Regions from separate parts of the Homo sapiens genome. Here region 2 is linked to region 1. Evidence: promoter capture Hi-C in 16 types of primary human blood cells and fetal thymus (Javierre and others, 2016). All regions are on one chromosome and are shown on one strand. The core of a region is centred on a gene start or on the middle of the fragment in contact, and the rest is flanking DNA. Distances in the headings are between cores, read along the strand shown.

What was found. The method cuts DNA at HindIII sites, captures the fragments that hold promoters and counts their contacts. A CHiCAGO score of 5 or more calls a contact.
Region 2: a fragment that was not itself captured here is called in contact with the fragment with the promoter of APCDD1L in region 1 in 1 of 17 cell types (endothelial precursors); the score reaches 8.3 in endothelial precursors.

What each region holds. Positions count from the first base shown.
Region 1 is chr20:58,513,629-58,517,646 of GRCh38, reverse strand. It overlaps APCDD1L (APC down-regulated 1 like), which reads left to right and starts at 2,248. Exons shown (of 4, transcript NM_153360.3): 1 at 2,248-2,988. The coding sequence starts at 2,940. APCDD1L-DT (APCDD1L divergent transcript) reads right to left here and starts at 2,268. Exons shown (of 7, transcript NR_034147.1): 1 at 1,907-2,268. RefSeq lists an enhancer at 2,647-3,645. The HindIII fragment of the contact is 14,141 bases long and covers 1-4,018 here.
Region 2 is chr20:58,644,023-58,648,365 of GRCh38, reverse strand. The region is part of intron 1 of LOC107985410 (a long non-coding RNA gene); the gene reads left to right. Among named protein-coding and RNA genes, the nearest start is that of STX16-NPEPL1, 5.1 kb to the left of the region's middle. RefSeq lists a silencer at 579-873. The HindIII fragment of the contact is 2,566 bases long and covers 344-2,909 here.

The DNA.
Region 1 (4,018 bases), core at 999-3,498:
AGGCCTTTTCTTTTGGGGTCCTCAGATTTGGAAAGGAGCAGAAAACCCAGTGAGACAGGACGTGTCCTGGAGACACAGCGCGGTGGTTGGAAGCAGGGATCCGGGAGTTCTGCCACCTTCCAGCTGCCTGGCCTCAGGACAGTGGCCCAAACTCTCTGAACTCAGTTGCCCCAGTTTGTAAAATGGCCTGACCGTAATTCCCACTTCTTGTCAATTTGTTCAGGTATAAAGTACATGCATATAAAGTACTCAACCTAACTAGTGCCTGGCCCATGCCACAGTCTCAATAATTATCAGCAAATCCTCTCATTTATAAATAAGCCAGTACAACTATTAATACACAAGCATCATACTTTGTGGAAAAGTTCGTATCTCTAACAGCAGTACAATAAGTTCTGAAAATACTGAATTATGACCCTATGTAGGACATCAATGTAACACCCATTCTCCCCACAAAATGCCACTAATGCGTGAACCCCCATCAGCCGCCTGGGACTTTGAAATACCCACATCCGGAAAGCCCAGAGACTGAAGTCTCAAATGATTATGGCCAGAATAGCATGTAGTTTTAACTTTTTTTTTTTTTTTTTTGAGATGGAGTTTCACTCTTGTCACACAGGCTGGAGTGCAATGGCATGATCTCAGCTCACTGCAACCTCCGCCTCCCAGGTTCAAGTGATTCTCCTGCCTCAGCCTCTGGAGTAGCTAGGATTACTGACGCCCGCCACCACGCCCAGCTAATTTTTGTATTTTTAGTAGAGCCGGGGTTTCACCATGTTGGCCAGGCTGCTCTTAAACTCCTGACCTCAGGTGACCCACCCGTCTGGCTCTCCCAAAGAGCTGGGATTACAGGTGTGTGCCACGGCACCCGGCCTTAGCATGTAGTTTTTAAACTACCCATAATTGTAAATTTTGTACATTGAAAGACCCATAATTGCCACAAATAATCACAATTATGCAAGTATAAATAATCACCCTGCACAACTCTCCTCTTGCCCACAAAGTTATCCCTTTCATGAGAATTTAATATGTGACAATGGCCATTGTCTGCCAGGGAAAGCTCATACCGATTTCAGTTTCAGCAAGGCCACCTCGAGTCTCATAGAAACCAGAAAAAAAAAATGTCATTTTCAGGAAGCAAATTGATCGTTTTCCTCACATTTCCATTTGCGTTAAGATCATGGTGTGGCCTTGCTCTGGACTTTTTCCTATTCCCTGTTGCCTCTGGAGAGGAGGAAAGCTAAGGATGGCTGGTGGGCCCACATCGGGGGTCCCTGGGTGGATTGAAGGGCTCTTGTGGCTCCTGGAAGCCTCGCCCAAGTTTCTGGTAAGAAATCAAAAGGTGAGGTGGTGTCCCCTGTTCCCCTGTGGGATGATCAGCCCACAAAAGTGGGACAAATGAGTCTATAAAATGCTTCAGAGGGGCAGGTGGACTGCTCACTCGTGAGTCCCGGGAAACAGGCCTGGCCCAGTTCTCCAAACCTTTCCCCAGGGAGACCGCATCTCTGTCTTCTCTCTTCTTCTCTCTTCTCTCTTGTTCTCTCTTCTCTCTCTTCTCTCTTCTCTCTCCCCCTCCCTCCTCCTTCCTGGTTCTCTTTTTTCTGTTGATTTCACTCCCTCCTTTCTTTTCCCTTTCTCTTTCCTCCCCTTTCTCTCTCTTTCTCTGCCTGTTTCCCCTTTCCTCACTTTCATTTCTCTTTCTGTCTCTTTCTTTCTCTCCCTCTCTCAGGTCTCTCTTCTCTGTCTCTCTTCATCCTCAGTTTTCCCCTCTCTCCCCTCTTACTTTCTTTCCCTTTTTCCTTTTTCTTTCCATCTTCTTCCTCTCCCTCTCTGGGTTCGTGGCAACACAAGGAAACCCGCACATCCCCAGCCCGCAGCCTCGCCCCCTCGGTCCCACTGCAGTTACCCGGTGATCCATGCAGGTGGGAACAATCCAGTTAACTTTTCCCATCCGAGTGATTCTCTTTCTCTTCTTCATTCATAAATGCCATAACTCTCCCGGTCCTCCTTTCCAAGGCTCGTGCACTTGATTTCAAGGCTTGCCTGCCACCCAGGGTGCCACCAGAGTCCCAGTGCCTGGGTTGGGGGCTGGAGCGCACCCTTTGGGATCCCCCAGCCTGTCCTCCGCCTCACGGCTGCCTCGCTTCTGAGCTGCCACCCTCAGCTGACTCACTCAGATGAGATTTGGGAGGGAGGGGGGCAGGAGGAGGAGTTGCGAGAAGGAGGAAAACCCGCCTGGTCGGGTCCACACTTTGCCTAGATGCGTTTGGGTGTGGTGGGGAGCGGGTGACGGCCTCATTTACAGACAGAGGCCGGGGCTGGCTTCTAGGCGACCGGGTTGGCCACTTTCACTGCGCTTCTGGGTTTGCTGGGATCCAAGTTGACGCGACTTTTCCAGGAGTAGCTGGAAGACCTGAATAGAAACTTCAGGGGTCCCAGGACTGGCGGGGCTTAGAGGAACTCCCCGCCCCGCTTGCCCTTCCAGGGAACGGCCTGGCTAGGGGTGCGCTTTGACGCAAGGAGCGCATCGCTCTGCCTTGGCCGGGACCAGAGCTTGGGGGAGGCCTCCTTGCCCACTGCGAAGACTTTGGGGAAGGCGACGGCCAGGGGACGGACATCTGGGGGAGGGCTGGGGGTCTGAATGGCAGGAGCTGCACCAGGGGGCTGTGCGCGCTGCGCGGGTGTGCGCGCCTCGCCGGGGGCTGTCTCCACCTCTTCTGGCAAGTTGGACCTATGAGTGCGCAGCTCCGCTTACAACTATCAACAGCCGGGAAGGCTGAGCGCGTGTGAGCGCCGAGGGGGGCGCAGGACCCTCGCAACTTCTTCGCAGGACTCCAGCCTGGCCGCCGGCGCCCGCAGCCGTCCGAGAGCCCTGCGCCCGCGCCTCCCCTTGCGCACCGTGGCAGCGCCCGGCGGGCGGTCCTGCCAGCCCCGACGGGATGCCCGCAGCCATGCTCCCCTACGCTTGCGTCCTGGTGCTTTTGGGAGGTAGGTGCCACCCTCCCCCACCCGGCAAACTGGCTGAGCTCGGAAGGGAGGGAGCTCGCCGTCTAATGTCCCCTAAGGGCCCTTGGGGACTACGGCCCTGGGTCGGCCCACGCGGCTGCTATGCTGCGCCCTGCGCGCCTTTCTCCAGTCTCACCTGGCCGGCACCTGCGCGCCTCCAGGAGCTTCCTGGGGCCTGCGGGAGGGAGTCGCGTCACCTCGCAATATGAGAGCCGCTGCACTCTCTGCGCCAGTCGGGGCCTGGCCTGTAGGTACCCAGAGCTGCCCTTTGTGCCGGGCCCAGTGGGACCGGGGCCTCCAAGAAGATGCAGGAGGATCCCAGGCCCACTGAGACCCCCATGGTGCGGGACAAGCCCGGCTATTCAGACCAAGGTTACTGGGGTTGTTTTTGCCCACGGAATCCTGACCTGTGCGGGGTCGGGGCTTCTTCCTGCAGCAGGACTCGGGGAGAAGCTAGGGAGCGCGCAGTGACCCCAGGCTCGAGTTGTGCCCAGCAGGCCTGACAAAGGGGACCAAGGGGCTTCAGGAACCCCTGGTAGAGTAGTCAATGCCTTCTCCAGGACTAAGGGGTTCCCTGGTGGCTCTTCGTGGGGGTGGGGAGTAGGGTAGACAAAACTGTACAAAGGCCAGCTGACTGGAGTGTGCCATCACAGGGGCCCAGTCACCACTGACAAAAATGACAGTAACCACAGTTGAAGTGTGCCCAGCTGGGGGCTCATCCCCAAGCACCCTCACATTATGAATGGCTGAGAATTCTGGCCCTGGAGTTAGACCACCTGGCTGGGAAGCCCAGATCAACATCATATCAACCCGTCTGGCTTTGGGTAAGCATGGCCATCGGCTCTCTCAGCCTTGACTTTCTTTCCTGTCAAATGGGCTCACAAAATCCCCTCCTCCGTCTGGGATGATTGTGAAGATTACGAGAGCACGTGCAGGAGGATCACTCCACTTGCTGCCTGGCACTGAGCTCATGTTCAGGGAATGGCAGCCGAGAACCCCGGGGTGAAGAGGG
Region 2 (4,343 bases), core at 377-2,876, 130 kb before region 1:
TGCAGCTCTGACCAGGCCCCAAAGGCAGCACGGTGCAGCTCTAAGCAGGCTGTGTTTAGGTATGGGATTGTGTGCCTGAAATAGTGTTAACCAAGAGGGAGCCCAGAGAGGGCATGCACCCCTGGCTCCAGTCACGTCCATGGTCCATGTTCGCCCTGACCCACACTGGAAGGGAGTTGGGGAAGGATGTAAATCATTATATTTGAATGTTCCTTGGCTGTTTTATTTTCCTGTCAAGTGACTTAAGCTTGATTTTTTTTTTTTTTTAAAGCATTCCCCCATGGCCAAGTATGTGTTTCCTTGGAATTGAAATCTAGGTTGATGGTTTTACATTTTAAAAGCTTTCATTGTGACTCATTCTTGGCCTGGGCTAGGATTCGGTAATACTCCTCGGGCTTGGTGAGGCTCCGTGTCCTGTTTCTTGGGCTTCATACCCACTTTCTAACATTCTGCCAACGAATCCAATAAGTCACTTTTGGGGACAAGTGTTTCATTGTTTTCTTGTCATCTCATTCAGTGCAGGAGGAAGCCCCATTGAAGCCAGGCCATGGCTTGGGCAGGTGCAGGTTTTCAAGTACTGAGAGGGGATGGTTAGCTCAACAGGTCAGCAGTGGGACACACACCCTTTGGTGAAAACAATTTAAATGAGATAGGGCTCATGTAAGCCCTTATACAACCTCAGCATAGAGTAAGTGCGCCACAAATGGGCAATATGATTTATTACAGCAGTAGTCTTACTGTTGGAAAGCTCACGTGGGCTCTGCTCTCCCTGGAAGGCATCATAAACTCCAAAGAGAATGGCATGGTATTGAGAACTGAACACTTGGAAATCTAAGCACGTTTCCGAGCTTCTTGTTCTGGACCTTGGGAATCCAGATGTGTCTGCAGTGCACACTCATGTGGAAGAGGGGGCTAAACCATCTCAAAGACACCTTTTAACATTGGTCTTTCTCCCACCTATAGAAAGACAGATGGTTGTTTGCTTATCAAGCAGCAAAAGCCCCCAGGCCTAACATATGTCTCGTCTGCACAGATCTGACAGACAGATTCGGGCCAGGTTCGGGTAACAGGAGTTGTGTGTTCTGTGTCCCCAAATAGTTCCTCAAAACCTTGAGTATTTCCAACAACAGAAAACTCCCTATCTGGGTCTGTCTTCAGCTATGATGCCTCTCCCAAGAAGGGAGACTCTGGAGAGAGGCAACACTTTTGTTTTGTCTGGAGTCCCGTAGCTTTTAATACCAGACAATTCAATACAGTAGGCATTTCTAAAAATCTACCAGTGGCTGTGCCTATCTCTTGCCAGGCACTGCTGAAAGAATGAAACAGCAAAACTCTTGCCTTCAGGGAATTTGCATCTCCACTGTCTCTACCCAAATTCTGGTTCTCATCGTGTACATTTTCCCAGCAGCCTGCTAACAACCACCCGTCTCTTCCCTCCTCATCCTGCAGCCACAGTGACCTTTCCAAAGCATAAATCTGATCATGTCACTGCCTGATTGAGGCCCTGAAACAGCTCCCTCTGGCCCATGCCAGCCGATCTCAAATGACGCTCAGCAGAAAACAGGTGCTCTAAGTTGAACCAAGCTGGGCATCACTAATATTAACTAATGATGGACTTTTCTTGGTTGTCAGAAAAAAAAAAATGAAGCTAATTAATGGAGTAGTCTCCATCTTAAGTGTTTCTCTTCTCGCTTTCTCTTAAACCTTCAGTCCCTGCCACCACTTGGCTGTATTAGAATATAGTATAAGACTAGATCTGATTTATTCCAGAATCATGGATTTCAGTACAATTTTTTTCCCATAGATCAGTATTTCCTGGAGTTCTGCATTTAGGTTTTCTACACTTTCCACATGGCGGAGTGCCCCCTGGGCATTCAAAGCCCTGCCCAACAGGCCCCACCTAAATGGTGAGCTTTTTTCTTTCCAGGACTTGGCTCACAGGCCTTTCTCTGCCTGGTGGGGGTAGTGGCGGGGGATGTGTCTTGCCCCTTCTGCTTGGTGAACCCTTCATTGAAGACAGCACCCCCTACACTGTCAGGTGTGATAAATGTTTGCGGAATGGATGACTGGATGGATTAATGCACAAAAGGTGAGATTAACTATATTAAGTGCTAGAGAATACCAGACAGTCAAGACTCAAAATGGGTGGAGAGATTAGGGCAGTTCTCTGTCCCCCTCGCTCACCCCTTTTCAGCCACACTAGCCTTCCCACCATTCCTCACACCTCCTTAGCACCTGCTTTGCTCTCCTTCCTAGGTTCTTCAAATAACTGGCTCCTTCTCACCACTCTTGTCTCAGACTATTCAATAGAAAGTAATCCTCCTACCCTGTCCACCGTGTGGGGAGAGGACTCTCCTCTCCCAGGGCCCTTATGTCACCATCATACCAGGTGCCTGCCCATGCTTGGTCAAGTTCAAGACTGAAACAATGTCTAACATCGTGGCTTTTGGTCTTTGAGGCCAAGAAGAGGCCTCTTGGGTCACAACACATGCCAGCAAAGCATATCTGCATTTTACTTTTTTTCCAGGATGATGTGGACACATGTGTACTCAAATAAATCAACCCTCCCATCTTAACCATCTCCCTTGGCAGGAACAATAAGTTAATGTGCCAAGCCAGGACTGACCTGGATGACTCAAACCCTGAAAAACATAAAGGAAATCATTGTGTTTTTCCGCTAGCAGGTATTGAAACATAGCCAACTCACTCGTTTCTAGTTTTTTTTCCCATGGCCATGACCACTGACCTGCTCGTGGTAATTTGTGTGATGTGCAAGTGCAGGGCTGGACTCCAGCCTTCTCCAGATGCTGCCTGTGCAACCAGCAGCCCCTTATTAGCTATGTGGCCATGCATGGCTCAAGACTCCTTTGGTCACAAGGGACAGAACCCAAATCAAATGGACTTAAGCTTCAAAGCAAATGTGTTGGCCCAAACATCTATGCGTAGCTGGATCCAGAGGAGGAAACATATCAACAAGGAGTTTCTATCTCTCAGCTCTTTCTTCCCCTGTGCTGGTTTCATTCTCAAGCCAGTGAACCCCAGGAGGTGGCAGATTGCTCTCTGGAAGCTCTGCCCTGTTATCTCACAGGACAGCAACCCCAATAGATTGAAATTTCTCTTTTCCAGTGGTTTCAAAAGTCCTAGAATGGACTCTCATTGGCCTGTCATGAGTTATAGCCTTATCCCTGAATTCATTTTTTTTTTTTTTTTTTTGAGCCAGGGTCTTACTCTGTCTCCCAAGCTAGAATGTGGCGACACAATCACAGCTCGCTGAAGCCTCAACCTCCCAGACTCAGGTGATTCTCCCACCTTAGCCTCCCAAGTAGTTGGGACTACAGGCAGGTACCACCATGCCTGGCTAATTTTTATACTTTTTTTTTTTTTTTTGAGACAGGGTCTCACTCTGTCACCCTGGCTAGAGTACAGTGGCGCTATCATAGCTCACTGCAACCTCAAATGATTCTCCCACTTCAGCCTCCCAAGTAGCTGAGACCATGGACATGTGCCACTGTACCCTGCTAAGTTTTATATTTTTAGTAGAGATGGGGTCCAGGCTGGTCTCGAATTCCTGGGCTTAAAGAATCAACCCACCTTGGCCTCCCAAAGTGCTGGGATTACAGGCATAAGCTACCACACTCAGCCATAATTTTTTATACTTTTTGTAGAGATGGGGTTTCACCATGTTGCCCAGGCTGGTCTCGAACTCCTGGGCTCAAACTATCCACCTGCCTTGGGCCTTCCAAAGGCTGGAATTGCAGATGTGAGCTAGTATCCTGAAATTCTAAACTTAGCCAGAAAGTAGTGATCATCAGATGGGTCAGACCAGGATCACGTGACCACTTCTGAACTCAGGGAGGGTGCCAGGGTCTGATCCATCCAAACACAATGGATTATAAACTCGCCTCTTCTGAAATCAGCGTGTTAGAACCAAGAAAAGTGATGTTGGGTGCTCGCATGCAACAGATTTCTACCTTGGGTCTGTTTTCAACCCACTGTGTGCCCTTTGCACACTGCTATATGCCTCTCCTTCAAACCCACTCCTCTGGCTTCTGGAACTTTGGTCATGCCTGCTTCTCCTCCTTCATCATCCCTCTGAGGCCCAGCCCCCAAATTTTGATTTTCCCCAGTGTTAAGTCCTTGCTTTTCTGTTACCTTTCACCTAACCACAGTGGCAGGTCCCGCCTACCCATGGGCCTCCTGCACACACTCTACCCATGGGCCTCCTGCGCACACTCTACCCATGGGCCTCCTGCGCACACTCTACCCATGGGCCTCCTGCGCACACTCTACCCATGGGCCTCCTGCGCACACTCTACCCATGGGCCTCCTGCGCACACTCTACC